Regions from separate parts of the Homo sapiens genome. Here regions 2 and 3 are each linked to region 1. Evidence: promoter capture Hi-C in 16 types of primary human blood cells and fetal thymus (Javierre and others, 2016). All regions are on one chromosome and are shown on one strand. The core of a region is centred on a gene start or on the middle of the fragment in contact, and the rest is flanking DNA. Distances in the headings are between cores, read along the strand shown.

Region 1 (3,727 bases), core at 314-2,813:
TCTCTACTAAAAATACAAAAATTAGCCAGGTGTGGTGGTGCATGCCTGTAATCCCAGCTACTCGGGAGGCTGAGGCAGAATTGCTTGAACCTGGGAGGCAGAGGTTGCAGTGAGACGAGATCGCATCACTGCACTCCAGCCTGGGAAACAGAGTGAGACTCTGTCTCAAAAAAAAGAAAAGAAAAGAAACGACTGTCCTGTCGAGTCCAGAGACGTGATTTTCTATGTGTGAGAAAACATTTTAAATGGCTTTTTCAAGGCATGATAAATCTAAGCACCGGCAGCCAGCCTGCAAATGTAACAAACCACATGGCTCATCCACCTGGAAGATCACAATAAGTGAACAGGATGTAGAGGAGTCAGCCCATAAAAGGGAAGAAAGTTTCATTACTGGGAAATCCAAACTTAAGCGGGAAAGGGACCAGGGTATAACCTTCTAAGGGGATAATGCAACTTAGGCGACGTCCGGGAAGATCGTAACCCTGTAGTCCTTGACCAGTGAGGAACTGAGGTAGGGTCTTGCATGCTAGGAGATAAATCACCTGTTGTAACTGCCCTGGGTGTACCTGCCTACCAGACACGTGACCTTGCAAGAGGGCTATTAAAAGTCTCACTTTCACTGTTCTTTGTGCCTCTAAGTTCACTCTTTGGGTTTGGACGGGTGAGCATGTTTCTCGCACTACGAAAAAACTGATTTTTTTCTTTAAGACAGAGTCTTGCTGTGTCGCCAGGCTGGAGTGCAGTGGTGCCATCTCGGCTCACTGTAACCTCCACCTCTCAGGTTCAAACAATTCTCCTGCCTCAACCTCCTGAGTAGCTGGGACTACAGGCGCACGCCACCACAGCCAGCTACTTTTTGTATTTTTAGTAGCGACAGGGTTTCACCATGTTGGCCAGTATGGTCTTGATCTCTTGACCTCATGTTCTGCCCGCCCTGGCCTCTCAAAGTGCTGGGATTACAGGCATGAGCGACCGCACCCAGCCAACTTTGATATTTTTTAAAAGCTCCCAGATAACTCATATGTATTAGCCAGGGTTGGGAACTAATAGATCACACTAAATGGCTTTATTTAAGCAAAGAGTACAGACCCAAAACATCTCCCAAACTATTCCTATGCCGGAGAAAAACTGAACCCATAATGGGGAGAGGGAAGATTCTATTATAATAAAAACTAAAAAATAACTTAAGGTTAAAAGTTTTCTTACTTTAAAAGTAATAATTTTAACTTTGTATTTTAATGTATAAATTCCTCTGTTTTAGCTTTGATCATTGTTTCAGCTACACTTGAACTGGAGAGAAATCAGAAATAAAGGTGTAAGATGATAGCTTGAATATGTTTTTATGATAGAGTAGAAAACCCTAAAAACTGCTGACATTTGACATTCTATGATCAAGGAACAAAGTCTGGACGCTTGGTTCCAAACTGATGGATTGCCTTCACAGATCCAATTCTCGACAAATTCTAGAACAGTTCTAGAACTGAACTGAAAGAATCATCACAAAGAGACTGAAACTGACCAATTCCATAACAACATTTTCCCCTGAAGTCTTAAGTTTTTCTCATGGGGAATATAACCAGGAAAGGAAGCAGAGACCTGGTGGTTGACAGTGCCAAGTCCCTGGAAGATGGCCCATCTGCAGCACTTCACTCGAAACTCTATGAAGCCATCATGAGAGAAGACTGCACTACGATCGAGGTACTCCTGAGAAATCACCCTGTCAACCAGCCCATCACCATTCTGCCCAACTCCGCCAGCAACAGATTACTTCTGACCCAGGTACCCTCTTTTCTGCTCAGTCACTTCTGGAAAAAAGTCAGGCTGCTTAGAAAGAAGCATGATCTAAAGCTGGTGAACCCACTAAGCTCACGGCCCTTATGAGAATGAGACACGACTCCAGCTCACTCCACACACACTGCAGTGCTCCCCAAAGCCTGCAAAGCCTCCCCTACACATGTCACACACAAACCAACATGAGAAAACACCAGACCCTGTGTGACTGGAAGACCATTCATGTCATCTCTCAAACATACCCACAGTGATGATCTCCATGTGGTCAAATTAGTTTTTCCCTTTTTTGGCCAGACGCAGTAGCTCATGCCTGTAATCCCAGCACTTTGGAAGGCTGAGGTGGGTGGATCACCTGAGGTCAGGAGTTCGAGACCAGCCTGGCCAGCAGGGCAAAACCCCGTCTCTACTAAAAATACAAAAATTAGCCGGGCTTGGTGGCAGGAGCCTGTAATCTCAGCTACTCGGACGGCTGAGGCAGGAGAATTGCTTGAACCCAGGAGGCAGAGGTTGCAGTGAGCCAAGATCGTACCACTGCACTCTCTAGCCTGGATGACAGAGCAAGACTCCATCTCAAACAAACAAACAAAAAATAGTTTTTCCCTTTTTAATATATACATTTTCATTTTCTAAATTTTTATACAATGATTATTACTTTTACAATTAAATTCAAAAAGGAAGTCACCCTCCCTTGTACCCTACTGTCTTATCTTGCAGCCACGGTGTGAAACCACTACTTACACGTGTGTATTTTAAGAGCTGGCACAAACAGCTCTGCTAATCATAGACAGAACATATGCTGCGTTATATTTGAAAACCCTGAAGATTCAGGTTTTACTGCTGATAATACGACTTTGGCAACGACACAGCACCTACTTGTCCATCACCCTGTGGGTTAATTTAAGGAATAAGTGACTTCATAGCAAGTACCCTTAATATCACACCACAGGCTCTTCTGAAGAATCAACTTTCAAAAATTTCCAAAGCTTTTGAGTGTTATTTCTGTTGCCTCAGTAAATGTGCATTTCTGTGAAACACAGATTTTATAGGATGGAATTCACTGAATTTTGATCATTTAAAACAGGTAGTAGAAAGGAAACTTTCAATGCACATACCAGAAAAAGAGTGAGCCAATGAGACACTAAATAAATGTATTGCCTTTGAAACGGCAAGCTAACACAAACAGTATTTTTAACTACACAGGGCCACTTGTAATGTGTTTTGTTTTCCCTCCAAAGCCGACAGAGTCTATCATCCCCATCCATCTGGCTGCCAAGTACCACAAGGCCCAGAGTCTGCTCTGCCTGTTACGGCACGGTGCTGACCCAGAAGTCAGGTAAGTTAACTCCACCGAAAATCATTTCTTTTTTTTTCTTTTTTGTTTTGAGGCAGGGGTCTCGCTCTGTTGCCCAGGCTGGAGTGCAATGGCACAATCTCGCCTCACTGCAACCTCTACTTCCTGGGTTCAAGAGCTTCTCCCACCTCAGCCTCCCGAGTAGCTGGGATTACAGGTGTGCGTCACCATGCCCAGCTAACATTTGTATTTTTAGTAGAGACAGGGTTTCACCATGTTGGCCAGGCTGGTCTTGAACTCCTGGCCTCAAGTGATCCACCTGCCTCGGCCTCCCAAAGTGCTGGGATTAACAGCCCTCAGCCACAGCACCCAGCTTCACTGACAATCATTTCTAAGTGAGGATATACCTGATATAGATTTTTTTTTCAGTTCATACATTTTTTCCACTTATGTTTGGACTTGTTCGTTCTTATGAATGAACCAATGTCTTTACTGAGTAGATGAGATACTCTGAAAAACTGAGAAAAATGCAACATCATAAATATTTTGCCAAATTAATGCACATTCTGAGGATTAAGAGCTCAATGGTGGTGTTGTGAGGAATGCAGTAAAGTCCTTGCCATGGCCTTCAATAAGTTTAACCAC
Region 2 (3,790 bases), core at 387-2,886, 180 kb before region 1:
TAGTTTATAAGTTATATTTTTGGCTGGGCTCGGTCGCTCACACCTGTAAACCCAACACTTTGGGAGGCTGAGGCAGGCAGATCACATGAGGTCAGGAGTTTGAGACCAGCCTGGCCAACACGGTGAAACCCCGTCACTGAAAAATATAAAAATTAGCTGAGCATGCTGGTGATTTTCTGTAATCCCAGTAATCCCAGCTACTTGGGAGGCTCAGGCACGAGAATTGCTTGAGCCCAGCAGGCAGAGGTTGCAGTGAGCTGAGATTGTGCCACTTCATTCCAGCCTGGGCGACAGAGCAAGACTCTGTCTCAAAACAAGTTATATTTCTATATTAGGACTCCATTTTCTGGCAATACGGTGGACCGTCTAAAGTGAAAATCACCGGGGCAGTGGCTCGTGCCTGTGATCTCAGCACTTGGGAAAGTCAAGGTGGACAGGTCACTTGACCCCAGGAGTTCAAGACCAGCCTGGGCAACACGGTGAGACCCTGTCTGTACCAAATACATATATATATTAGCTGGGCGTGGTGGCACGTGCCTGTAGGACCAGGTACTTGGGAGGCTGAGGTGGGAGAATCCCTTGAGCCCAGGAGTTTGAGGCTACAGTGAGCCATGGTCGTGCCACTGCGCACCAGCCTGGGTGACAGTGAGACCCTCTCTCAATAGAAATGAAGTGAAAACCCACTGAAAACAACTGGACATGACGGACAACAACCGCTGACATCCTTTTAGATACATAATTCAGCTCTCAGGAAAATAAGTATCCAGGTGCCAGCTATGTAGAAGGTACTGAAAAACAAAGTCTGTGAGTTGATGCTGTAGCTGTTCTATGGGTTTTTGTTTACTTGGAACTTGAATGTTAAATGGTATAGAAGGGTAAGAAACAAGAACTTGGGGGCTACACAAGACAGAACTGGCCTTGAAATAACTCAGATGCGCAGAACTTTCCACAGGCTGTACATCAAGGGAGACGGCAGACTGGAGACAGAAAGCTTGCCTGTCTGTCCTTGGGCTCTGGGTAGGGCAAGATTTTACCTGGATGAGTCCATGTGCACTGGCCTGCATGTCATCTAAGTTAGAATTTGAACTTGCCCTACTCATGTTCCAATTGAGAAACTGAACAATCAGGCCGGGTGCAGTGGCTGTAATCCCAGCATTCTGGGAGGCTGAGGAGGGTGAATCACCCGAGGTCAAGAGTTTGAGACCAGCCTGCCCAACATGGTGAAACCCCATCTCTACTACAAATACAAAAAGCTGGGCGTGATGGCAGACGCCTGTAGTCCCAGCTACTCGGGAGGCTGAGGCAGGAGACTTCGCTCGAACCTGGGAGGCAGAGGTTGCAGTGAGCCGAGATCGCACCACTGCACTCCGGTTTGGGCAACAAGCAAAACTCTTGTTAAGAAAAAAAGGTAGACACAGCATGAGTCCACTTATATAAGGTACCTAGAATAGTCAAACTGATAAGAGACAGAAAAAAAGTAAAACGTTGGTTATCAGAGCTTGGGGGTAAGGGGGATGGAGAGTGAGGGTTAATGGGGACAGTTTCAGTTTGGGAAGATGGAAAAGTGCTGGAGATGGATGATGGTGATGGTTGTACAATATTTTGTTTTTCTCTTTTTTTTTTTTTTGAGATGGAGTCTCGCTCTGTCGCCCCAACTGGAGTGCAGTGGTGCAATCTCGGCTCACCGCAACCTCCACTTCCCGGGTTCAAGAAATTCTCCTGCCTCAGCCTCCTGAGTAGCTGGGATTATAGGTGCACACCACCATGTCCAGCTAATTTTTGTATTTTTAGTAGAGATGGGGTTTTGCCACGTTGGCCAGGCTGGTCTTGAACTCCTGACCTCCTGCCCGCCTTGGCCTCCCAAAGTGCTGGTGTTATAGGCGTGAGCCACCATGCCCAGCCTGGTTGCACAATATTTTTGATGTAATAAATGCCACTGAATTGTACCCTCAAAAATAGCGAAAATGGCAAATTTTATGTTACGCATATTTTACCACAATTAAAAAAAAAAAAGTGTAGGATCCACTCCCAGCTGGTGCTCTGGCCCTGCCCTGGCCCCACAGTGGAGGAAGGTGCTTCTCTCCCATTAACGTGGACACGCCTTGACCAGGACTTTGAGCGTGTGGTTTTTCCCTTCCCTAGCCCGGGCCTCGGACCTTCTATGACAATCCGCTTTCCTCTTATATGTGATTTTACTTTCCCAGACTGGAACATTTGCTTTCTGTTCACTTTACTGAACAACACTTAGACATCCAACCTCTCTCTGTCCTCTCTCTTCCCTGAAGCTTCCTTGGCACACAACACACCTAGGCAAGCCTGGGTGGGTACAGGAGTGGTTCACTGCATCCCTGGAACAGGCTCAGGGGTTTTCGGGCATAAAGGCCTCCTCCCTGGCTTGATGGTCAACCTGTGCCCAGTGTCACATCCATCAAATGACTTTGTATTTCACAGCTTCTCTTCCACCCCCACTCTCTTGGGAGAGGTCAGGCCCTTCCAGCCCAGAGTGGGGGTCAGTGTGGACCTGGGATTTGATGTATACTCTAAGCTTGGGGAAAAAAAATGGTTAAAAAGTCCCCCAAGGGCAGCAGGAAATCGGGCTCTGGTCCCAGATGCATTTGTGATGAAAGGGATTAGACTCTGCAGCTCCTGTTAAAATCAACCACCGCGTCCATGGGTTGATCCAAGAATTCTGTGCAAAGTCTGTAAAACTCCGTCCTTGGTCTTGCTTGCTTTAATGACAGTCTTTCACATTTTTGTCCTAACATGTTTCTTCTCAGCCTGATTTTTTTAACAAACTGGCAACTTTGAAATGTAAAACAGTGAAATCTAGAATTTTCTCCCAGAGAAAACTTTTCCAGAGAGAACACACACACACACACACGCCCATCAATTGAGAACCATATGCTAAGAGCAACTATGTTTACTTTACAAAAGAATAATGTCTTGGCTGGGCACGGTGGTTCACGCCTGTAATCCCAGCACTTTGGGAGGCCGAGACAGGCAGATCACTTGAGCTCAGGAGTTTGAGACCAGCCTGCGCAACATGGTGAAACCCTGTCTCTACAAAAAAAATTAGCCGGACGTGGTAGCATGTGCCTGCAGTCCCAGCTACTCAGGAGGCTGAGATGGGAGGATCGCTTGAGCCTGGGAAGTGGAGGTTGTGGTGAGCCAAGATTGCGCCACGGCACTCCAGCCTGGGAGACAGAGTGAGATGCTGCCTCAATAACAATAATCACAACATCTTGAAATAACCGTTTCTGTCTCTTTCTTGCCACTGGAGACAGAAGAGTTAGCCAGGTTGCAGTTTTTTTTCCCGTTCCTCACTCCTGGAGACACCCAGGCCACTGGGTTCTGAGCTCCTTGTCTCCAGGGAGTTAAGATGAACATGCTAGAGTCAGCTTGCTTCAAGTCTCAGCTCTACCATTTGCTAACTTTGGGTAAATCATTCAAGCCTCAGTTTCCTCATCTGTAAAACAAGATTATCAATGTAACTACATCCTACATGGAGTAGGCAGCAGACTACAAGGGTCTCTCGAGACCAGCAGAGGCAACATAGTCTTGCTCTGTCACCCAGGCTGGAGTGCAGTGGTGCGATTATAGCTCACTGCAGCCTTGAACTTCTGGGGCTCCAGCGATCCTCCTGCCTTATCCTCCCAAGTAGCTGGGACTACGGGCACATGCTATCACGCCTCACTAACTTTTTAACTTTTTCATAGAGATGGGGTCTCGCTCTGTTACCCAGGCTGGTCTCAAACTCCTTGCCTCAAGCATTCCTCTTGCCTCTACCTCC
Region 3 (3,579 bases), core at 626-3,125, 240 kb after region 1:
CGTGTCAAAGGGAATCGCCCTGGCTGCAGTGTGAACAAGGATGACAATGGGAGAACCATGAGAAGGCTTAAGGCAAAAGAAGTGAAAGATGGCACCAAAATTTTGGCCTGAGCAACTGGAAGAACACCACAATATACTGAGATGGAGAGACTTACCAGTAATGCTTTATTTTTTAAAAAACGGACCTAAAAAATGCAACAGAACATTGACAGCTATTATGTCAATTCTGAGTAGTGGGAACAAGAGTGCTGGTTTCATTATTCTTTGTACTTTTCTGTATGTTTTATACAGATGTGTTTTATATATATCCTTCCCTCCATATTTCCCACTACCACCCTAACCCACCAAGCCCCGTAACTCTCACCTGAACCACTGCAACACCTCCCTTCTCCCAAGTCCTCCCTTCTCCTCCAAACCACTCTCCACTCAGGAGTCAAGAATATGCTTCTTTAAAAAGCAGGGGGCAGTGGTTGAGAATACGGATTCTGAAATGGAAGGCTTGGGTTCCAATCACAGCTCCATCACCTGCTAGCTGTGAAATTTCAGACCAATTACTTAGCTTCCCTATGCCTCCATTTTCCAATCTGAAAATAGCAATATGATGAAGAGTCAATAAATTAAGACGCAGAAAGTACACAGGACATACAGCATCAAGTAAATATTAGCTAAAATTATTGAAATGTAAATCAAATGAGATTTCCCCGTTTAAAAATCTTTCAGCGGCTTCATGTACTTAGAATAAAATCTGCATTCCTTAGCTACTGAAAGCCTGACATGGCCCCAGTCTATCTCTCCCGCTTCACTGTCTGTTCAAGCCACACAAAGCTGCTTTTAATTCTCTAGAATACTCAGCTCTTGCCAGCTCCATGCCTTCCCTTCTGTCTGGTCCACTACCCCTATAGATTGCACCTCGAAGGGCATTTCCTCAGAGGCCTTCCCTGGCCACGGGCTTTCCCTACACCTCTCCCATCCCACACTTTCTCTTCCTCAACCTCTTGTTGATTTCCTTTAACACATCTAGCATAATACATGATTATTTTATATATAGCTGTTTACCTCTTTTGTCTGTCTCTCCATCTAAACATGAGCTCCATGAACGTGGGAAATTTATCTGCCGTATTCACCACTGTTAGGCACTGATACAGTTTGGATATATGCCCCGCCCAAATCTCATGTTGAACTGTAATCCCCAATGCTGGAGGCAGGACTTGGAGGGGAGGCGACAGGATCATGGAGGCAGATCCCTCATGGCTCAGTGCTGCCCTTGCAATAGTGAGTGAGGACTCCTGAGATCTGGTCGTTTAAGGGCGTGGCATCTCTTCCCTCTTGCTCCTGCTCTAGCCATGTGATGTGCCTGATCCTGCTTCACCTTCCATTATGAGTAAAAAGCTCCCTGAGGCCTCCCCAGGAGCCGAGCAGATGCTGGCACCATGCCTGTACAGCTACAGCCTGCACAACCATGAGTCCATGAAACCTCTTTCCTTTATATATAACCCAGGCTCAGGTACTTCTTTATAGCAATGCAAAAACGGCATGACACAGGCACTAATAGCTCTTGTGCCATGCATAGAACCTGGTATTTGGTAGAGACACCATCAACATTTGAGTAAATGACTACAAAAGAATATACTCTAAGCATAATCTAAAAGCATCCACTTTTTAAACTCTCAAAAATACAGTAGTTAACTTACTACAGAATGAAAAATAGGTAACATTTTATAACCTTACATTGCATATCACATTATCTTTTTGTTGCGGTCTTCCCAGAATATTTTGTTTGTTTGTTTTGAGACCGAGTCTCACTCTGTCGCCAGGCAGTGGCGCTATCTCGGCTCATTGCAACCTCTGCCTCCAGGGTTCAAGCAATTCTCCTGCCTCAGCCTCTCGAGCAGCTGGGACTACAGGTGCGCATCACTATGCCCGGCTAATTTTTGTATTTTTAGTAGAGACGGGGTTTCACCACATTGGCCAGACTGGTCTCGAACTCCTGACCTCATGATCTACCCGCCTTGGCCTCCCAAAGTGCTGGGATTACAGGCGTGAGCCATTGCGCCCAGCTGTATTTTTTAATCTATAAAAATTCCCTCAAAAAAGGTGTAAAATGGGTATTTTCTTACCATCATACTATTTTTCTATGAAACTGCTTTCCAATTTTAGAAAAAGTGAAGACAGATTATTCAAACTTTTTTGAATTTCAAAAAATAAAAAGGCGCATAGTGAAAAGTTTCCTTCCCACCTATATTCCCCATCCACTCAGTTCCCATCATCTTCCCCAATCAGGTAACCATTGTTATTGGTTCCTCCTTTCACCTTCCAGGGAATCTGCATGCATCAGCCATTACCTCCTCTTTCAAAACACAAGAATGGGAGCACGCAATGCACACTTTCCTACACTTTGCTCTTGTAATTTTGTTTTGTTTTTTTGAGACAGGGTCTCACTCTGTTGCCCAGACTGGAATGCAGTGGCGCAATCTCACTCACCGCAACCTGCACCTCCCAGGCTCAAGCGATTCTCCTGCCTCAGCCTCCCGCGTAGCTGAGATTACAGGCACGCACCACCACTCCCGGCTAATTTTTGTATTTTTTTAGTAGAAACGGAGTTTCACCATGCTGCCCAGGCTGGTCTTGAATTCCTGACCTCAAATGATCCACCCGCCTCGGCCTCCCAAAGTGCTAGGATTATAGGTGAGAGCCGCCGCGCCCGGCCTGCTCTTGTAACTTAAGATATTTTGGAGATCTCTCCATGTCAACTAAGAAAAGAGCTTCCTCGTTCCTTTCTACAACTTTACAACCTCATTAACCATCTGGGCATGGATTTATCTGATAAGTCTCTTGCTTGCTGATGGACACTCAAGGCAATAAATAATCTTGTACCTATGTTATCTCACACGTGTACAAATATATCTGCAGGTTAAATTCCTAGAACTGGATTGCTGGGTCAAAGGATTTACACGCCTGTAATTTTTAAAGCTACTGCCTAAAGCACCTGTATCTATCAGGGTCCACCCAGAGAAACAGAGACATCCAGAGAAACCATCCCTTTAAGAATCTGATATAGAGGGAATTTAATATAAGGAATTAGTGACAGGGGTGATGGAAAAACTGAAAAGCCAAACAGGAAATGATAATACAAAGATTATCAAGAGCAAGCTGCTGTTACCACTTCTCAAATAGAGGGTAAAAGGGAGGAGGTATTTCCAAGACTCAAAGGCTAGGACCAAGGGGCAGGAGCTGGAGCCAAAAGGAGACAAGGTACCTGCCAGAGACACTCCCTGAGGCAGGCCTAAGGGAAATAACCTGTTTTTGTCCTTCTTCCTGCCATTCCTCCTGCCAGTGGCTCCCAGTGGCCAATCCCAGCCGGAAGCCAGCTGACCAAGGGCCTGGGAAATGTTGCCTGCAGGGGTGAGTCCCTGCAGGGAAAGGGCAAGAAACGGATCTGAGCCAACAGGACATGGGCTGACCCTGCCTGTGGCTACTTTACACTCTTACCCGTAAATGTTTGAAACGACCTTGCCGTTCAAATATTTCAAACTTGAAACAGACTTTGTATACTTGGGGGTTATCACCTGTCTGAAGGTG

What was found. The method cuts DNA at HindIII sites, captures the fragments that hold promoters and counts their contacts. A CHiCAGO score of 5 or more calls a contact.
Region 2: a fragment that was not itself captured here is called in contact with the fragment with the promoter of ANKRD61 in region 1 in 1 of 17 cell types (endothelial precursors); the score reaches 5.5 in endothelial precursors.
Region 3: a fragment that was not itself captured here is called in contact with the fragment with the promoter of ANKRD61 in region 1 in 2 of 17 cell types (megakaryocytes and erythroblasts); the score reaches 5.2 in megakaryocytes.

Annotation. Positions count from the first base shown.
Region 1 is chr7:6,029,813-6,033,539 of GRCh38, forward strand. ANKRD61 (ankyrin repeat domain 61) reads left to right here and starts at 1,564. Exons shown (of 3, transcript NM_001271700.2): 1 at 1,564-1,779; 2 at 3,027-3,124. The coding sequence starts at 1,564. The region is part of intron 11 of EIF2AK1 (eukaryotic translation initiation factor 2 alpha kinase 1); the gene reads right to left. The HindIII fragment of the contact is 4,913 bases long and covers 1-2,772 here.
Region 2 is chr7:5,849,038-5,852,827 of GRCh38, forward strand. It overlaps the pseudogene ZNF815P. Among named protein-coding and RNA genes, the nearest start is that of OCM, 30 kb to the right of the region's middle. The HindIII fragment of the contact is 1,294 bases long and covers 990-2,283 here.
Region 3 is chr7:6,265,763-6,269,341 of GRCh38, forward strand. All of the region lies in intron 1 of CYTH3 (cytohesin 3), which reads right to left. Among named protein-coding and RNA genes, the nearest start is that of CYTH3, 5.1 kb to the right of the region's middle. The HindIII fragment of the contact is 4,625 bases long and covers 1-3,579 here.